2 separate regions of the Homo sapiens genome follow, and region 2 is linked to region 1. Evidence: promoter capture Hi-C in 16 types of primary human blood cells and fetal thymus (Javierre and others, 2016). All regions are on one chromosome and are shown on one strand. The core of a region is centred on a gene start or on the middle of the fragment in contact, and the rest is flanking DNA. Distances in the headings are between cores, read along the strand shown.

What was found. Contacts are between HindIII fragments. The CHiCAGO score rates a contact against its expected background, and 5 or more counts as called.
Region 2: a contact is called between the fragment with the promoter of WDR64 here and the fragment with the promoter of MAP1LC3C in region 1, in 14 of 17 cell types (M2 macrophages, fetal thymus, M0 macrophages and 11 more). The highest score is 14.8, in M2 macrophages.

What each region holds. Positions count from the first base shown.
Region 1 is chr1:241,997,830-242,000,360 of GRCh38, reverse strand. It overlaps MAP1LC3C (microtubule associated protein 1 light chain 3 gamma), which reads left to right and starts at 1,263. Exons shown (of 4, transcript NM_001004343.3): 1 at 1,263-1,410; 2 at 1,530-1,585; 3 at 1,741-1,847. The coding sequence starts at 1,353. RefSeq lists an enhancer at 753-1,278. The HindIII fragment of the contact is 10,018 bases long and covers 1-1,407 here.
Region 2 is chr1:241,651,022-241,653,552 of GRCh38, reverse strand. It overlaps WDR64 (WD repeat domain 64), which reads right to left and starts at 1,272. Exons shown (of 28, transcript NM_001367482.1): 1 at 924-1,272. The coding sequence starts at 1,068. The HindIII fragment of the contact is 1,763 bases long and covers 748-2,510 here.

The DNA.
Region 1 (2,531 bases), core at 14-2,513:
GCTACTCGGGAGAAATCGCTTGAACTCAGGAGGCAGAGATTGCAGTGAGCTGAGATCGTGCCACTACATTCCAGCCTGGGCAACAGAGCAAGACTCTGTTTCAAACAAGCAAAAAAACAACAAACACAACTTGGGGCTTGCAATCGGCATTGAAAGTGGGGGACAGTCTTGTGGGACAGAGCCCTCAGCCCGATCTGATGCTGTCTCCAGGTAGACAGTGTCAGAGTTGGATTGGAGGACACCTAGCTGGTGTCCACTGTAGAAGTGATTGCTCGGTGTATGGGGAACCCCCACCCACCCACACACACACACACACATCTAGTGTCAAAAGTGATCTGTGTTGTGAGAATATAGGAGAAATGGAGTTTGGTTTCCCCTATGTATGACCAGAGACCCAGTTTCTTAACTCTAAAAGCAAGATCTTGGGGACAATTGTCCTTCCTTCCTTCTTTTATCCCAGAGAAAACTAAGTGACAGAATATACTGGAGTGTAGTACTTGGACTTCCTTGTAACAACTCTGGGTTTTTTTTGTTTTGTTTTGTTTTGTTTTGAGATGAAGTTTCGCTCTTGTTGCCGAGGCTGGAGTGCAATGGTGTGACCTGAGCTCACTACAACCTCCGCATCCTGGGTTCAAGCGATTCTCTTGCCTCAGCCTCCTGAGTAGGTGGGATTACAGGTGCCAGCCACCACGTCCGGCTAATTTTTGTATTTTTAGTAGAGATGGGGTTTCAGCATGTTGGCCAGGTGATCCACCCGCCTCGGCCTCCCACGTGCTGGGATTACAGGCGTGGGCCACTGCACCCAGTGTACAGCTCTAGGTTTTAATCCATACCGCTTCTCTTACTTGCTGTGTGCCCTCGAGCAAATCACTTCACCTTTCTTAGTATAGGTTTCCTTCTGTGATAAAGGGCATGGACCATTGTGAGAACTACACAGCACACTTCAGGCTGAGGTGGATCCAGCTTGGACCCCCCCTTGCTACTGAAGGGCAAAAACATCCCAGCACAAGGCAGTTTTACCTCTCCACAGTCCGCTGCCCAGCCAATGATTTTATTACAAACCCTAATTTCTTTTGCAAAGAAACATCTTGAACTGGTCATGAACAAAGTGGCTTTCTCTGACCAGCAAGCAGGTGGCGATTCCATTTCCATCAGAACTGACCTCCTGCTGCCCAGGGAGGGGGAGTGGGGAGAGGGGAGGGAGAGGAGAGGCCTGATGTCACTCAGCCCTACATAAGGGCCTCCTTCAGGCTCCTGCAGGCAGTTTGGAAGCAGCTGGAGGAATGAGTTAGGTTCCCGGTTGCGGGACAGTTTTTTTTTCTTTTTTAAAACAGACACAGCTACTGAGTGCAATGCCGCCTCCACAGAAAATCCCAAGCGTCAGACCCTTCAAGCAGAGGAAAAGCTTGGGTAAATTTCTTGGGGTAGCTTTCTGGGTTATCTAAAGAGAGGAGCGGATCTGGCCTTCTCTTGATCTTTGCTTCTTTTCTTGATCTTTGCTTCTTCTCTTGTGCTTGAAATATTCACAGCAATCAGACAAGAGGAAGTTGCTGGAATCCGGGCAAAGTTCCCCAACAAAATCCCGGTAAGACACCACTGGACTTCCGCTGGGGGGCGTGGGGGTGGGGTTCCGATCCTGTTCTCTGAAAAACCAAGAGCAGCCAACAGCTTCCCTCTGTCTGTTCCAAGTTCCTAACACTCACGCTGAGTCACATTCTTAAGGACTGACACTCTTGACAGGTGGTAGTGGAGCGCTACCCCAGGGAGACGTTCCTGCCCCCGCTGGACAAAACCAAGTTCCTGGTCCCGCAGGAGCTGACCATGACCCAGTTCCTCAGCATCATCCGGTAGGTGGCGCAGAGCGTGCCCCGGAGGAAGGTGCGCTGGGTGCGCCGGGGCTGTTGGGCTTTCTTCGTTTGGCAGTTTTATTTTGGGGATGGGGGCACGTCAGGGGAAGAGAGGAAAGAGATTTTTTTGAAGTCACCTTTTAGATTCACTAGTACCCTGAAAAGATGCTCTTAGAATTACTCTATTTTAAACCCCGGGCGGAGTGGCTCATGCCTGTAATCCCAGCACTCTGGGAGGCTGAGGCAGGTGGATCGCAGAGGTCAGGAGTTTGAGACCAGCCTGGCCAACGTGGTGAAACCCTGTCTCTACTAAAAATACAAAAATTAGCTAGGCGTGGTGGCGGGTGCCTGTAATCCTAGCTACTTGGGAGGCTGAGGCAGGAGAATCGCTTGAACCTGGGAGGCGGAGGTTACAGTGAGCCGAGACTGTTCCACTGCACTCCTGGGCAACAAGAGTGAAACTCTGTCTCAAAAAAAAAAAAAAAAAAAAAAGAATTACTCTATTTTAAACAGGTAAGGAGAATCCCTCAGACAACGACAACAACAAAAAAGACCTGCCAACATTTCTAAGAATTTCCTAAAGTAGTTAGTCTTGGCTCTCAAGCTAGGCCGGGAGATCCTTTCTTTCAGATCTTGTGTGAAACCGAGTCTGCGCGTCCGTTGCAGAGACCAGCACCTTTTCCA
Region 2 (2,531 bases), core at 23-2,522, 350 kb after region 1:
AAAAAAAAAGAAAAGAAAAGAAAAGAATTTGGGTAACTTGGGCAAATGATTTATCTTCAGCTCCCATTTTTTCCACAAATAAAATGAACATAATGACATTGATTAACATGACTATAAATTATTAAATACTATTCAATTAATACCAGCTTGGGTTTGAACACCCAAAGTCAAGATTTTCACTTACAAATTACTATGCAGCCTGGCACACTCAGAGGCTGGCTATACTATCCCTTTAGCAATTATATGGGCTCTGCTCCTTTCATTGCAACAGCAGGGTTTGTTCTGTTAGTCTTTCACTCTGCCATGTAGCTTTATTTTTCACAGCTGTCCTCAATACGCCAAAGCTGTACACTACACCACTCCCCTTGAATCTTGTCTATGCACTGGCATCTCTGCTGCAAATCCTCCTGTAAGACCACTGTCCACCATATTCTCCTTAGCTTGCATCCTCAAGATCATTCCTGCCTAGAGATATGGAGAGTGGCCAAGACAATGGAATCATGGTGAGGCAGGAAGCTGCACTTCTTATGAAAGTCTTTATGGTCTCATGATATCTTTAGGCTAAGAAAAAGCAGTGCTATACATTACTGAGCATCCCAGGTCAACCAGTGAGCCATCAAATGGCAGCGTCTACAGAAGAACACTGGACGTCATTTAATCCAATCCCATAGTTTTACAATTGAAGCAACTTCGGTTCAGAGAAGTAAAAAAAAAAAACAAAAACAAAAACAAAACAAAACAAAAGCTTCCTCATGTCCGCTTTGTTATTTAGGGACAGAGAAAGAACAAGAACTGAGGTCTTCATCCCCTTTCAGCACCCATTCTTTCACATTAAGCTCTGATGCTTCTCTCTGATGGCTTAAAACATTTTCCAGTTCTAACCAACAGACCCAATTGGACTATCGTGTAATCACTGATCTTACCTTCTTTATGGATAAATAAGCCTGCTCTTTCATCTCTTTTCTGGGCTGCTGTTTGTTCAACCAATTTTTCAAACCTGTTCAAAGCCTTTTTGAAATTGCTCATCTGAAGTGCCATGTTGAGACGCTTTTCCTTCCTGATATCCATAGGGACATAGGGGATCTTTTACTTCTGTACAGAAAGAATACTGCAAGTTTACCAATTTGGAAAACTTTCCAGTTGTTACAGTGCCTCCCTGCTGTCTCAGTTTTTGCCCTAGGTCTAATTCCTTTGATCTTAAAATCCCATAGTGCGGGTAGGAGTAAGAGTTGCCACTAGGATGTTAGCAGGGAGGAAAGCTGATTTAGGTCTGATGCATTTCATACAGACAAACATTTCAGTAAAAATCCTGACCTCACAATGTCATCAGTGTCCTTCATAGGGTCCTCATTGCATCATAATATCTCTGTAACATCCTACTTCCTTCATAAGGAGGAGATTGAGATATTTTTTTCCCCACAGACTGTGTGTGTGTGTGCGCGTGCACATGTGTGTGTTGTGTATACTGCTTGAGAGGGAAAAGGAATGAGTAAATAACAAGTAAGAAAACTGGGTAATACTTTCTCCCTCGTGTATCTCTTCTCACCTCAAACCTTTTGCCTTCCTCACAATACCGCGGAAAGTAAAGTTTGGCCAGGCACGGCGGCTCATTCTTGTAATCCCAGCACTTTGGGAGGCCGAGGTGGGTGGACCACCTGAGGTCAGGAGTTCAAGACCAGCCTGGCCAACATGGTGAAACCCCCGTCTCTACTAAAAATACAAAAATTAGCTGGATGTGGTGGCGGGCACCTGTGATCTCAGCTACTCAGGAGGCTGAGGCAAGAGAATCACTTGAACCTGGGAGTCAGAGGTTACAGTGAGTTGAGATCACACCACTGCACTCCAACCTGGGTGACAGAGTGAGACTTCCTCTCAAAAAAAAAAAAAAGTAATATTCACACTTATTCTTGCCACTGTACTGGATATGGAAATTCGAACTTCTAAAGATGAAATGTATTTCAGCACCTGTCATTTCTACCACAAACATTTTTAGAGGTCATAGGGAATACAAATGCTCTTCTTCCTTTGTGCATTGTCCTTCGATTGAAATAATAAAGTGAGCCAAGGATAAGGAAGGAGTGGCTTCTGATTATGAGGACAGCTTTTCAAGGTAAGAGGTCAGATGAATTAGAAGAGGCCTTTCTGCACATCTCCTTCCCAGTCATTGCAATCTCCAATCCGACTTAGTCCAAATGCTATTGACTCCGGTTTTCCAATTTTCAACTTTTTATGGGAAGGAGAAGTTGTTTAATGTTTCTCAACAATTAGTTAACTTCCTATGGCTTAGGTGAGTTAGATAAATTTCCTACCCCTTGGTAGTCCATCTTTTAAAACATTCTTCAAGAACTTGCATTCAGAGATGAAGCAGATGGCATTTCAGAGCACCTCCAATTCCAGTACTGTCTTCTTGGTGTCCACCTCTAACTATCTGTTAGGAGAGCGCAGTAAGATTTTATTTAAAGAAAAATCCCCCAACCCCATTTGTTTCTCCTCCTTTTTCCTTTAAAGCTTTCAAACCACTGTACAGTGAT